Regions from separate parts of the Homo sapiens genome. Here all the other regions are linked to region 1. Evidence: promoter capture Hi-C in 16 types of primary human blood cells and fetal thymus (Javierre and others, 2016). All regions are on one chromosome and are shown on one strand. The core of a region is centred on a gene start or on the middle of the fragment in contact, and the rest is flanking DNA. Distances in the headings are between cores, read along the strand shown.

What was found. The method cuts DNA at HindIII sites, captures the fragments that hold promoters and counts their contacts. A CHiCAGO score of 5 or more calls a contact.
Region 2: a fragment that was not itself captured here is called in contact with the fragment with the promoter of PRKAR1B in region 1 in 2 of 17 cell types (activated CD4 T cells and naive CD8 T cells); the score reaches 6.6 in activated CD4 T cells.
Region 3: a contact is called between a fragment that was not itself captured here and the fragment with the promoter of PRKAR1B in region 1, in 1 of 17 cell types (endothelial precursors). The highest score is 5.1, in endothelial precursors.
Region 4: a fragment that was not itself captured here is called in contact with the fragment with the promoter of PRKAR1B in region 1 in 6 of 17 cell types (activated CD4 T cells, naive CD8 T cells, non-activated CD4 T cells and 3 more); the score reaches 12.6 in activated CD4 T cells.

The regions. Positions count from the first base shown.
Region 1 is chr7:725,275-728,766 of GRCh38, reverse strand. PRKAR1B (protein kinase cAMP-dependent type I regulatory subunit beta) reads left to right here and starts at 1,486. Exons shown (of 11, transcript NM_001164760.2): 1 at 1,486-1,557. DNAAF5 (dynein axonemal assembly factor 5) reads right to left here and starts at 2,068. Exons shown (of 13, transcript NM_017802.4): 1 at 1,452-2,068. The coding sequence starts at 2,046. RefSeq lists silencers at 1,206-1,285, 1,326-1,435, 1,496-1,545, 1,796-1,995. The HindIII fragment of the contact is 13,329 bases long and covers 1-3,492 here.
Region 2 is chr7:438,152-441,750 of GRCh38, reverse strand. It overlaps LOC116435278 (a long non-coding RNA gene), which reads right to left. Exons shown (of 2, transcript NR_165239.1): 2 at 2,362-3,599. Among named protein-coding and RNA genes, the nearest start is that of PDGFA, 80 kb to the left of the region's middle. The HindIII fragment of the contact is 9,548 bases long and covers 1-3,599 here.
Region 3 is chr7:299,619-303,184 of GRCh38, reverse strand. No RefSeq gene overlaps it. Among named protein-coding and RNA genes, the nearest start is that of FOXL3-OT1, 10 kb to the right of the region's middle. The HindIII fragment of the contact is 8,648 bases long and covers 1-3,566 here.
Region 4 is chr7:394,910-398,584 of GRCh38, reverse strand. No RefSeq gene overlaps it. Among named protein-coding and RNA genes, the nearest start is that of FOXL3-OT1, 110 kb to the right of the region's middle. The HindIII fragment of the contact is 157 bases long and covers 1,359-1,515 here.

The DNA of each region.
Region 1 (3,492 bases), core at 237-2,736:
CCCCACAGCAACCAGTGAGCACATACCCCAGCAGGCTGCGCTTGGGGCTGGGGCACAGATGGGCACAGTGCTGTCCTGTGGAACCTACGGTCCAGGGAGGGAGCTCGTGGGGCTGATGTACAGACTGGGTAGGGAAGTGGTTGAGGATGAAGAAGAAATACATTAAATGCCAGGAATTCTCAATGGCCATGTCCATCCAGCCCAAGGTTCTTCCCCAAGCTCCACAGGAGTTCTGGACCATGTGAAATCCAAAGTTAACCAACGTGGAAATCTCGGCATTTCCCCAAGTCCAGCTCTTCCTCTACTTCTGGAATCTATTCTCCACGCAGCTGCAGTGATCTTTTAACAACCTGAACTCGGGTCTATCACTTCTATTGACACCCCCTGCACTTCCCACTACATTCAGACCATCACTGGGACATCACTGGGACGGCCTGAGCTGGCCAGATCCCTCACTGCTTTCCTGCTCCCTACCGCCCACGGATTTATAGCATCAGTGTTCCCTCCTTCGGAAAGCCTTCCCGCCAGCAGGAAGCAGGCGCCTGCTATCATTCCACATCCCAGCCAGGGGAGGGAAAGGGCAAGACCCTGCAGGAATGGCCAGCTAAGGAAAGGGAACGACCGGATCAGATCAGAGCTCTAAAAAAGATGGGGAACGTTATAAAGTGGAGGGGAGAAGCGGCCTCCTTCCACTTAGGACAGTGGTCCAAGCCAGAGCGGAAAGGCAGGGGAGTAGGATGAATGGGACAGAAAGTGAAATGACCAGAGCAGAGTCTCAAAGCGCGTGCCCTCAACCAGGTGCAAGTCCTGCAAGCCCCCGAGGGAAGGAAAGGGGGCAGCTATCAGGGCACACCCCACCCCAAACCGCCTAACAGGAATTTCTGCGGTGGTTTCCAGGTATCTGGACAGAAGCGCTGGCTCGTGGGCCCGGGTGGGGTGGAGGGGGCTCAGGCAGGGAGGAGGGTGGGAGGTGAGGGTCGCGGGAGGGCGGCGTGCAAGGAGGAGGATGGCACAGGATAGGCAGGTGGAGGGGGCACAGGGAGCAGGCAGGTGGGGGGCGGGGCTTGGGGCGTGGAGGGTGGAGGCGGGGAGCAAGGGGACAGGGGAGTGAGGTGAGTGAGGGCCAAGCAGGAACAGGGGTCACGGGGCAAGGAGCACGTGGCAGCGCAGGAAACAGGTACATGGGGGTAGAGGACAAGGGAGCAGCTGAAGGGCGCGTTGGTGGCGGGACGTGAGGCAGGGGAAGCAGTGGTGGTGGGAGGAGGGGGCCGGGCGGGGTGCTTTGGGGCAGGCGGGTGGGGGAAGCGGCGCATGGGGGGTCCGGGATGTTGGGGGGTGCGGGCGTGGAGGGGGGCGGGGCCGAGCCGCGGGGGTTGTGAGAGGGGCCGCGGAGGTGGAGGTGGGGGTGAGAGTGTGGGGTGGCGTGTGGGAGCGGGGCCCGGGGTGCTCACCGGGCGTGGCCTGCGCCAGGGCGGCGGCGCAGCTGCAGCTCTCGCGGCGCACGGCGGCGAAGGGGTCGAGCAGGGAGCAGCGCAGCGCGCGCAGAGCGTCGTCCAGGTGGGGCGCGAGCGCGGCGCCGCACAGGTCCACGGCCAGGCCCAGCAGCTGCACAAGCGCCAGGCGCAGCTCCTCACAGGCCTCGGGCGGGCGGCGCGCGGGCACGGGGCCGGCCAAGCGCGCGGCGAGCGCGGGCAGCAGGCGCGGCAGGGCATCGCGGGGCCGCGCGGCGCGGCGCAGGCCCAGATCCAGCAGGTGCACTGCCAGCGCGCGGCAGCCCTCGGCGGGGTCGCTCAGGCAGCGCAGCAAGCGCGGCAGCAGTAGGCGCGCCCAGGGGCCCTGGAAAGCGGTGGGGTCGGCGGCAGGGCCTGGCTCCTCCAGCGCGCGCCGCAGGGCCTCCAAGGCGCGCCGCCGGCCCGGCTTGCTGTCGGCCTCCAGCCCCGGCAGCAGGCGGCTCAGGGCGCGGCTCAGCTCCACCGCCTCAGCCGTCTCGGCCCCCTCAGCCGGGTGTGGGGCCGCCACGGCCTCCGCCACCCCCAGCGCCGCCATCTTGCCCGCGTCGCCGGTCACTAAGGGGAACAGCGCTTTCGCGACTCTCAGCGCAGATTACGGCAGCACTTCCGGTCCGCGCTGCGGGCGGGGCGCCGGGCTACTTCCTCCCCGCCGGTGCGCACGTGGGCCTGTGCTCTTGTCGTGCTCGCCCGCTGTCCCCCTCTGTCGCCGGAACCCCCGCCAGCCTGCCTGCTGGGCCTTGTCCTGTCCCCATTGTACAGATGGGGAAGGTCTCGGGAGGGTGCAGCTCGCCCGGGATGCGGGTCCCGGGCTATAGGCCTGGGCCTGCCCCTAGGGAAGCCTGCCCTGCAGCCTAGGGGGCTTGGAGAAGGAACCTGAGTGGTCCCGCCTGGGACCAGGGTAGCCGGGAAGCCCCTGTTTGAGCCGCCTAGAGCCCCTCTGGCTTTGGGAAGGTCCGTTCCAGGAGGGAAGGACGCTGGTTCTGTGGACTGGATCCCCCTGTGGTGTAAGACAGGTGCCTGGTCTGGGCTTCACGTGCAGCCTGTCATTAGATCTCAGGCGTAGCCGCCCAATAGGTTCGCCTTACTCGCTGCCCAGGTAGAGCCAATTTATCAAGACAGGGGAATTGCAATAGAGAGTTTAATGCATGCAGAAACTGGCTGCATGCAGAAACTGGCTGCATGCAGAAACTGGCTAAAGGACACTGGAGCTTTATTGCTCAAACCAGGTTCTGAAAATCCTGAGATGGGTCATCTAAGGATAATTAGGCAGGTAGGGGGCCAGGGAGAGGGCAGTGCTTATTGGTCGGGTTGGAGATGAAACCATGGAGAGTCAAAGTTGATTCTCTTGCTGTCTTCTGTTCCTGGGTGGGATCACAGAACTGGTTGAGCCAGATTAGTGGTGTGGGTGGTGGCACCTGGTGCATCAGAATGCAGAGCCTGAAAAATATCTTGAGCACCAATCTTAGAGTTGATGATAGTGGTGTTATCCTAAGGAGCAACTGGGGAGGTTTGGAATCTTGTGGCCTCTAGCTGCATGACTCAAACCACAATTTCTAATCTTGTGGCTCATGTGTTAGTCTTACAAAAGCATTCTGGTCCCCAGGCAAGAAGGAGGTTGGCTTCAGGAAAGGGCTGTTATCATCTTTGTTTCAAAGTTAAACTATAAACTAAGTTCCTCCTAAAGTTAGCTTGGCCTACTCCCAAGAAATAACAAGGCAGCTTGGAAATTAAAAGCAAGACAGTGTTTCACAGTAGTGACCTTGACTGTGGACTTGAGTGGAGACAGAGGCGCCTAAACAGCTTGGAGTCGGAGTTGCTGTGAGCCCAGCCTAGAACGCGAGTTTGACAGCACTCACTGCAAACCAGGAGTCCCCAAGTCTGGTTAGCCAGGCACTTCTCATCTGTGACCATGCACTGAGTTTTCTAAAGGCAGAATGTGTGTAATTTTAGGACAGAACTTCAAGTTTGACCTTCTTTTTTG
Region 2 (3,599 bases), core at 663-3,162, 290 kb after region 1:
AGTCTGAGGGCCCTGGGTGCAAATCGACTTCACCCCAAGGAAGTCAGCATGACTTGAGGCAAACCAATGACCCTTTCTTTAAAAATTGGCCAATGCGGGCTCAGCATGGATCACCGTGAGGGTCCAATGAGGTGACTCGGGCGGGAGCAGTGGCGTCACTGTCGTTTTCTCGTCTTCTTCCTCCTTCCTTCCCCCTCGGCAGTGCAGTGTGTGATGGCTTCCTCGCCTGATGGTGACACAACCAGCCCCATCCTGGTGGTGGGCACCCACGTCACACAAGCCACGCTCCAGCTTCCCGGGTGCCCACATGTTTATGAACCAGCCTCATGCTGGTGGTGGGCGCCCACGTCACACAGGCCACGCTCCAGCTTCCCGGGTGCCCACGTGTTTTTATGAACCAGCCCCATCGTGGTGGTGGGCGCCCATGCCACACAGGCCACGCTCCAGCTTCCCGGGTGCCCACCTGTTTATGAACCAGCCTCATCCTGGTGGTGGGCGCCCACGTCACACAGGCCACGCTCCAGCTTCCCGGGTGCCCACGTGTTTATGAACCGGCCCCATCATGGTGGTGGGCACCCACGTCACACAGGCCACGCTCCAGCTTCCCGGGTGCCCACATGTTTATGAACCGGCCTCATCGTGGTGGTGGGCGCCCACGTCACACAGGCCACGCTCCAGCTTCCCGGGTGCCCACATGCTTATGAACCAGCAGTGAGATGGACGTGTCTCCCAGGGCCAGCCAGGCCTTCTCCGGCTCTTCCTACCTCGTTATGTGCTGCGGCCTGGATACACTGGAGCTTTTAAATAGAGTAGTTCCACTCTAGCATTTGATTCTGTTACGAATGGAATGGCATCCTCCAAACTTATAGGTGGAAGCTGTATCCCCCATGTGACTATATTTGGAGACAAGGCGTTTAAGGAGGTAACAAGATTGAATGATCCCATAAGGTTGGGGCCCTAATCCTAATCCTGTAGGACCAGTGTTCTTATGGGAGGAGGAAGAGACACCAGGGATCCCCACTATCTGTGCACAGAGGAGAGGCCGTGTGAGGATCTGGGGGAAGGCTGCCATCTAGAAGTTGAGGAGAGAGGCCTGTGGAGAAACCAGCTGTGCTGGTTCCTTAATGTTAGACGTCCAGCCTTCAGAGTTGTGAGAAATAAATCCGTGTTGTTTAAGACCCTCCGCTTGTGGTTTTTGTGATGACAGCTGCAGTACCCTAAAATACTTTCCAAACTCCATCACAATGTGGGCCCCATCTCCCGTTACTGCTCAGGAGTAGGAGAATGAAAAAGAGGGCTGGCAGGGGCTGGGGATGGGCGTTCTGGGATACTGGGGCCCTAGCTGACTTTGGACAAGTCTCTTTTGTCTCCCCACTGTAAAAAGGAGACCTTGGGCCCAGTGGTCTCTACACGATTCTCCACACCAGAAGCTCTCTGGCATCTTGGGTCTGGGGCCACTGCTCAGTGCAGGGAGGGCTTGGTCTTGGTAAGGGCAGCAGTATACTCTCAGGGCCCAGAACAAGGCCTGGTGTGTGAGCTGGGCCCTGGACCCGGAAGAAGGAACATTGACCTCTGCCTCCTCTTCACCTTCCCTTCTGCAGTGATCGTGGCCAACACCCAGGGCTCCAGTCCATTCCTGGGGCTTGGGGGCACAGGGACCCATAGAGAATGCCCAGTTGGCTCGAATGAGGGTTATCCCTGCATGGCCACTGTCCTTGAGATGGCTGCCCCTGGAGTGTGCAGAGGACACTCTCAGTACCACCAGATTCCAGCCTGCCTGGCGGGAGTCCCCAGGACCGTCACTCTCGCCTTGGTTACAGGGGCCTCTGTCCTCCACATCTCAGGGAGGTGGAACCAGCCCACACAGTGCACAGTAAATGCTCATACTCCTCAGCTTCTCTTAAGGGTCAGAAATCAAGGGCATACCTAGAGGCCAAAGCCTTCTTTGGGCCTCAGTTTCTCCATCTGCAGACTGAGCAGTGGGCTCCGACCATTGCTGCCATCCCCCTGAGGTCTGTAGGATCTCAGAGGTTTATTTGCAAGGAGTTTCCCCCCAGTTTCCTCTACATAAATCATCCTGAGCACACACATACCTGCGTACCTTGAGGGTGGCAGGAAGTCCAGACATTGCTCCCGACCCCCTTAGGTCCAGGCCCAGGGCACAGCCCTATAAATCCGTAACACAGAGAGCACCAAGGGCCGAAAGCGTCCTCGTGGAGGGCAGGGCTGTGGGGAAGAGGCTGAGCCACCAGGGGCTCTCGGGGGCTGGAGCCTGGCCCTGAGGCAGAGACACAGAGGGTCCCGTATCAGTCAGCGCCCTTTGGAGGGAGAGAGACAGAGACACAGACACAGGGAGATTGATTTAATGCGCTGGCCCATGTGATGGTCCAGGCTGATGAATCTGAAATCTGCAGGGCAGACCCGCAGGGGAGCAGGCTGGGAGCCCGGGCAGGATTTTATGTTGCAGTCTTGGGGCAGAAATCCTTCTCCAGGAAGCCTCGGCGTTCATCTTCAGCTGCAGCTGAGGCCCAGCCACATCTCGTGATCTGCAGCACTTGCAATTAGCCAATTGTGCGTGTCCATCACACCTGCAGCACAGCCACAGTGGCATCTGGATGGGGCTTGACCGTGCCGCTGGGCACTGCAGCCCGGCCGAGTGGACACGGGGGGGTGCCCATCACTGTGCCCACACTGTTGTTGTCCGCTGGCCATCGTGGTGGGAGTGCCAGCTGACCTCCAGCCATTGGCATCGGCAAACTGCAGCCAAGGGCTCTCCAGAGATCTAGAGGCCCTAGGAGCAGCCTGTGACCTCTGACCCGGATCTCATGACCCTTGGGTGGGAAGACTCTGAGGGTCCCGTGCTGGCCCTCTCACTGGAGCAATCCCCCATGGTGGTGACAACAGCCCTTCCCCATCTCAGCCCTCATTCCTGCGAAAGTTCCCTGGGATGGCCTCCCCATAAACCTATTTCTAGGTGACCCCAAGTTAAGGCAGTCCTGAGGGAGATGGGTCTGTGGAAGGCGTGGGAGGAGAGGGAGCTCCTGGGGTCAGGGACCGTCCCTGGCTCCATCCCAAGGGCTGCCTGGGCCCCTCCAGGAAGGGGGAGCCTCCCTCAGCCTTGCAGCTTTGGGACACTCCAGATGACCTGGAGCCACCTGCTGGGTGGAGCATGGTGCCAGCCTCTCCTGGTCTCTGAGCTCAGGGCTCTGTGCATCCATGGCCCAGAGCTAGGTCCGGCAGAGGAGAGTTTCCAAGCCTCAAGCTCAGACTGTCTCGTAGATGAAGGAGTCAACATGAGCCAGTGAAGGCAGGTGGGGCACGGCTCCAACTTTGCCACCTAAGGTGACCTGGATCCTGAGGCCGGCAGCCCGCAGGACCAGGGAGGGAGGGCGGCGGGAACGCGCAGAGAAGCGAGCTCTGGGAGCACCTGCCATGCCCTCCTGCCTCCCTGGCCAGCACGGGCTGCGGGGACACAGAGGGAGCTTGGGAATGAGGTCGTGGGGGCGGCACCTGCCCCACACACTGACTCGTCCTGGCCCTTGGTGAGTGCTCAGGGCTGGGCTCTGGACTCAGTCACGCTGGGGCCGGCTTCGCTTCCG
Region 3 (3,566 bases), core at 58-2,557, 430 kb after region 1:
CATCCATTCCAGTAGAAGCCCAGGGCTGGGGTCCATTCCTTGCTTTTGGGTCACGTGATGCCTCCACCTCAATCTCTGCAGCCGATGGGAAGGGGTCAGGTGGTGAGGCCTGGGTCAGGGACCCACTCAAAGGCAATGGTGGGCCGGGTGTGGTGGCTCACGCCTGTAATCCCAGCACTTTGGGAGGCCGAGGAGGGCAGATCACTTGAGCTCAGGAGTTCAAGACCAGCCTGGGCAACAAAGTGAAACCCCATCTCTATAAAAAATATAAAAATTAGCCAGGCGTGGTGGTGCGCACCTGTCATCCCAGCTTCCGGGGAGGCTGAGGTGGGAGGATTGCTTGAGCCTGGGAGGTGGAGGTGGAAGTGAGCCAAGATCGCACCATTGCATTCCAGCCTGGGCGATGGAGCCAAACCTTGTCTCAAAAAAAAAAAACAAAAAAGGATGAGGGAGGTCACCCCCACCCTAACCAGCAGGCAGGGGACAAGGGGCTGCTCCCCAGAGGAAACCCCATCAAAGGTGACTCTAAATGGCCGGTTACAGACGGGACCCTCCCTGTCCTCATGCTCCCAGGAAGAGGCCCCCATGGCCCAGGCATGACAGGACCAAAGTGAAAACCTCCCTTAGCCCTGTTGAAGCAAACCAGTGTGGAGAGAAAGTGGCTCCTAGCCCCGCTGTGCCTGGTTCACGGCTGACAGGAGGCCACACCTGGCCCTGGGATGGATGGCTGTTGGGGGGTCCCAGAGCCTGTCTGCTGCAGGAGTCCCTCCTCTCTAGGCCTCAGTCTCCTCCTCTACAGAAAGGGATCAAATCAACCGATCCAACCTTTCACGGAGCTGCTGTGAACGCTGAAAATGCTGCCGGGCGCTGAGCACTGAGCCTGGGAGGGCTGTTGCTTCTGGAGGCCCATGGGGTCCTCCAGCTCAGGCCCAGGATAGCAGACTCCCCAGCGCACTGGTCCTGACTCAGGGAAGGTGGGGCCCAGGCAGGCCCCAGAAGTCACAGGCAGGGAGAGTGTGTCTCCCAGCCCCAGCTGGGCAGACACCCTTGGGGATCCCAGGGTCCTCAGGCCAGACCCAGCACAGCTTAGGGTCCCCCCATCCACCCGGGCCTAGACCACTCGCCACGGAGGAGAGGCGTGGGCCCCTTGCGAGCAGGGAAGCCTGAGGTTTCTGGGACCGAGCTGCCGGCTTCCTCTGTGTTGAGGGAGACACCTTGAAACAGGGTTTTCCTGGCCCACATCTGGCCGAATCAGTTCATCTAAACAGAAAACAGTGAGAAAAATTGTTCCCAGCTTTTCAGAAACTCCAGACACATGTGGCTCCTCGTCTCTGTGTTTGGGACGGCCGAGCCACCTACGTGCCTGCTCTGCGAGCCCAGGCTTTACGGTAGGCAGGAGCATGCCCAAGAAACACGTCGCAGCACCTACTGTGTGTGGGGTCAGCGGCAGGCCGGGAAGCCGGGAGGTACAGGAGCTTCGGGAGGTCAGCTGGGGGCACCAGCGTGAGGACCTCCCGCCTCCCTCGGGTGGGCGGCGGCAGGGACCCTGGAACCAGCATGACTTGTGCAAATCCTTACCCCACCTCAAATCACACGGCCCTAGGCAGGTCTCTGTGCCTCAGTTTCCTCGTCTGTAACACGGGGAGGAGATGAGATGTCCCCATTAAATATGAGATGCCTCCTCACTTCCCGGCCTGGGAGCGTGCACCCAAACAGCTCTGCTCTACCTGGGGGCTGAGCAGAGGAGGACATTTTGCACCAGGGCCTTGAAAGCCAAGTGGGTTTTTACGAGGCTACAAAGATGAAAAAGGCATTGCAGAGGGAGGAAACCAAGCGTGAGGGCGTGGAAGCGTGACCGTGGCGGGTCAGACGGAGCCAGCAGCCTCAGCTCAGCAGGACCCATTCTCTCTCCCAGCCTGTAGACAGAGAGAGGAACATTCTCACTCTGCCCAAGCATAGCCGTGGGCATTTCACACGCTGTGCGCTGTGCATGCACATGTGTGTGGCTATATGTGTGCGTGCTTGTGCATACGGGCGTGTGTGTGCATGCATGCTCACGTGTGCATGTGCCTAGTTGATGTGCATGTGTGTAGGTGCATATATGTCTATGTACGTGTTTGTGTGCTCACACGTGTGTGTGCCTATGTTGGTGTGCACACATGTGCATGTGTGTATGTGGATATGCCTGTGTATGTGCATGCATGTTCACGTATGTATGTGACTATGTTGGTGTGCATGCAGGTGCATGTGTGTATGTTGATATGTCTGTGTACATGTGTGCATGTTCACGTGTGTGCCTATGTTGGTGTGCATGTGTGTGTGTGCACATATGTCTATGTACATGTGTGTGTGTTCATGTGTGTGTGTGTGCATGTCCATGTGATGTTCTGTCTTTGCATCTCAGGCCTATGAAGCCAGGCCCACTAGACAGCCAGGCACATCTGCACTTGGTCAGCCACAGACGCAAGGAGGCTTCAGGACGCCAGAGAGGGGACCTGCTGGTCCTGGGGACAAGTGGGAGAACTGGATGAAATAAACCATTTCTCCCTCCTCTGTCTGGAAACAAGCCTGGGATGGGAATCTGAAGGGCTGGATTTATTCCTGGGTTTGGCTGCTTTAAACCTGTGGTCCCTCTCAAGCCTCAGTTTCCCCACTTGTCAGAGGAGAGTGTTCTCTGCCCTGCAGCCTCCCTGGGTGATAAGGTGGTGGCTGTTCGGAGTCCCCAAAGAAAAGTCCTCCTCCTCTGCAGAACCTCGCGGTGAATGATACACAAGACACACTTTCAACACCAGAACTTCCCATCAACAGGCTCACCAGCCTGCAGCCTGCTGACTTCTGCAGCCTGAATGCACCTTCCCTGGGTGCTAGAAACAAAGGAGGCTGTGGGTGAAACGGTTCGCAGAACTTTCTCGAGGCCCTGCCTTGTTGGAGCCCTCCGCCTGGACGCAGTGTCTTTGAGGGGGGCAACCCGTCTCCCCTCTTCCTCTCCCCCAAATGCACCTGCCTTTCCTCATGTGTTGTCTTTCTCTGGCTAAAGCAGTTGGCCTTCCCTGTGTGGACGAGGCCCAGAATCTGTGGCCGGGGCTGCCCTCATCCCTCCTGCTGGGTTCACACATTAAACTGCCCCAGGGAGGAGCCTTATGCCCTGCCCCAGACTTCGTCCTGTATTTGTTGACACCGTCGTCACCCAGGATTTCTGTTACTGGTGGCCAAAAGCACCTATCGAGAGATCGTGAGGAGCCTCTGAATGGGACGGGGTGCCCTCACGGGGCAGGGCCCTTGCAGGCATCGCTCTGCCCATGTCCATTGCTGTTTGTCCAGCACCCCATGCAGCCCCAGGACGGAGCGGCGTTGCACAGACAGGGCCTGTGACTCCACCAGGCTAACCTGTGGAGAAGCATCACATCTGTTAACGACGTTAAACAATGAACTGCACGAGTGGGCAGATTTTTCTTGCTCTCTGGAACCAAATTGCTTCAGGTAACTGTCTTAAGAGAGGCCTGGTCCAAACCCTCTCTTCTTCCTACCCCAAACTCGGGAACAAATAATGCGGTGGTTCTTTTGCT
Region 4 (3,675 bases), core at 188-2,687, 330 kb after region 1:
GATCTCCCACCAGGACAGTGATGTGAGGGTGATGGCAGATCTCCCACCGGAAAACAATATAAGCTAGAAGACAGGAGAATGGTGTCTTTAAACTATTGATAGAGAAGAATCTTGTAAGTCTCGAATTTTATACCCAACAATAATATCTTTTTTTTAAGGTGAACTAAAGACTATTCAGACATGCAAAAGCTGAAGGAATCCATCACCACAGCAGACTTGTATAATAAGAAAGCCTTTATCTACACACACACACACACACACACACACACACACACACAGCACCACAAATGGTAAGCACAGGGTAAATCTGTAAGATTTACTCTTTTTTTATGTTTAGAGTCATGATGTCACTCTGTTACTCAGGCTGGAGTGCAGTGGTACAATCATGGCTCACTGCAGCCTTGAACTCCTGGTTTCTAGTGATCCTCCTGGCTCAGCCTCCTGAGTTGCTGGGGTTACAGGCATGAGCCACCACACCGAGTTCTAGATTTACTCTTATTATTTAAGTCTCCTTAAAAGATAATTGGGCTTTGCAAATGGCAGTGTGTGGAGTTTGGCAACACCTCTTCCCCAGACAGACATCTGTTAGACTAATCAAAATAAACAGAGACAATCGTTTGAAGTCTCTGGAGACTGATCAAAAGGTTCATAGAAAAATTGAGAAGCATTTATTCAATAAAATCTGTGAAATTTGCCAAACATTGTGGAAGGCCTTGGCATCTGAGCCATGGGTTGCACACATCCCCCCGTGGCTCTGCTGCAAAGGAGCTATTCCAGAAGCCTTGGTGGCTGAGTGCAAAGCTTCCACCTTTCCAGCTCCCTGAAATGGAAGAGCCATTCCATGGGCGTATCCAATGGCCAGACACTATTAGTAGATTTCTCTCCTAATAGTCTCTATCAGCAACATGCTGCAGAAGAGCTATACTGAGCAGGCAGCTGGGCGGAATTATCTTTTCCCCCATCCCAGCAACTGCTCCATAGGAAAGATCTAGGCAGAGAAGATAACACAACACTCCTCCTCCCCCAGGCTCTGTGCTGCAGAAGAGCTATCCTGGTGGGTTCAGCAGCAGTGTGGCAGCTCCCGTCTTCCAGCATCCTAGTGTAGAAGAGCTACTTAGGGTGTATTTGGCAACCAGTGAACATTGGGAATCCCATCCTCCTTGGCTCTGTGCTGCTAAAAATATGTCTTGGGTGGTGGAGTCAGCCAGGTGGTACCTCAGTTACTGCTCTTGCCTTTCCTAAACGCTTGCTCCATAGTGAGATACAGGTGGGGTGATTGGTGAAGAGTGAGGTCCCCCACTTCCCAGCTCCTGCTCCATAGCACAGAGCTTCTGCTCAGGGGAGGGTCATAGCAAGCTTCAAAGCAACACCTTTTCTGGCCAAGTGATTCTACTTTGTTTGGATCAGACTGTGGGCTATGGAGCAACAATGCTCCAGGGCATTGTTGAAAACAATAGAGCAATCAGGTAGTATCCACGTGGGGTGATGCCAATAGAGGCAGAACAACCAGAAGCTTATCATGGGAAGCGGCAGAGACTCCAGCTAACACCATCGTCCCTGGCGGTCCATTAGACTGTGTGCATGCCTAAGACTGCACTCTTTGAGGAGTGATGGGAGGGACATTGGAACCTCTAGTCCGTGCCTGAATGTGGGATAAATGAATACACTCTCTGTGAGCAGTTTCCAACCACAGATAGATCCATCAGCAAAGGGTTGGGAGGCCTCATAGGCTTAAGAACAAGTGGCTGACCACTAAATTGTGTTAAATCGAGGGGTGACACTTAGGACTGGCTTAAAGATAAAAATGAGGGGACAAGTGTGAGCAGGATGCATACTGCAGGAGATATAGATGTCACAGAATTATTTCAGTCAAATCACCAAACAAGAAAACAGGTGAACAAACAAATAACAACAATGATAATAAGCCCCTGGTTGGCAGATGAGGATTCAGACTTGCTACAATATCATGTTACCTCAAGTGTTCAATTTTCAATAAATATTAAGATTTGCAAAGAAACAGAAAAGTGTGATTCATACACAGGAAAAAAAAAAACAACAACAGGCAATAGAAGTTGCTTCAAAGGGGCCAAGATGTTGAGCTGAGCAGACAAAGACTTAAAAGAAGCTATTGAAAATATGAAAGAACTAAACAAAACCAAACAAAAGAACTAAAGGAAGCCATGTTGAAAGAATAAAACAAAGGCATGATGATAATGAGCTGTAAAATAGGGACTATAAAAAAGGATGAATTATAAAAAGAATCAAATGGAAATTCTGGGGTTTAAAGTACAATAGCCTAAATAAAAAATCCGCTCGAGGGGCTCAACAGTAGATTTTGGCTAGAAGAATCACTGAACTTGAGATAGATCAATACAGATTATATAACCAGAAGAAAAGAAAGAAGAATGAAGAAAAATGAACACAGCCAAGGGGAAGCGTGGGACACCATTAAGCACACCAACATGTGCATTTGCATAATGGAAATATAGAAGGAGAGGAGAAAAATATTTGAAGAAATTAGGGCTGAAAACTTCCCAAATTTGATGGATGACAACAATCTACTTCCAAGAAGTTCAACAGCCTCCAAGTAGGATAAATGCAAACAGATCCACACCCAGGCATATCACAGCCAAAATGTTGAAATCTAGAGATTAAGAGAAAAATCCTGAAAGCAGCAAGAGAAAAATGACTCCTTGGGTGCAAAGGAACCTCAAGAAAATTAACAGCAGACTTCTCATCTGAGACAATGGAGGCCAGAGGCAGTGGGATGGCAATTCAAAGTGCTGGAAAAAACAAACAAACAAACAAACAAACAAACAAAAAAGTCCTGCTAACCAAGAATTCTATAGCCAGGGAAATGATTTTTCAAAAACAGAGGTGAAATTAAGATATTCCTAGTAAACAAACAAACAAACAGAAAACAACAAGCAAATTTTTTGCTAGCAGACCTGACTAACAGAAATAGTCAAGGAGGCTTCTCAAGTGAAAAGGAGGGGCATCTGAGAAACTCCCTTGAGTATTTCAAATTCAAATTCGAATTCACACCAAAACACAAAGAGTGCCAGTGAAAGTGACTGTAAAAGATAGAATAATTTCACATTTATTCTCCTAACTGATTTAAAAAATGATTGCAATAAAGCAATATCTCTACAAGTTTACTGTTGGACCTATAACATGTAGAAATGTAATATATTTGACAAGGACAACATGAGGAGCCTGGCAGATATGAAGCTGTATCAGAGTGAGGCAACGGTGCTCAGAGGTGACTGGAATCCACAGGATGCAACAAAGAGAACCAGACGTGGCAAATAAGGAAACTAACATGTATGTCTTAAAAACCTCTGTAAATGTATTTTCTTCTCTTTGCTTCTTTGAAAGGCATACAATCATTATTTTAATTTTTAAAAAAATTTTGCTTTTTTAAAGACCGGGTCTCACCATCACCCAGGCTGGAGTGCAGTGGTGTGATCACAGCCCACTGCAGCCTTGAACTCCCAGGCTCAAGTGATCCTCCCACCTCAGCCTCCTGAGAAGCTGGGATCACAGGCATGTGTCACTAAACCTGGCTAATTTATATATATATATATATATTTTTTTTTTTTTTTGTAGAGATGAGGTCTTGCTATGTTGCCCAGGTTGGCATGAAATCTTTTAAAACAGTAATTATATAACATG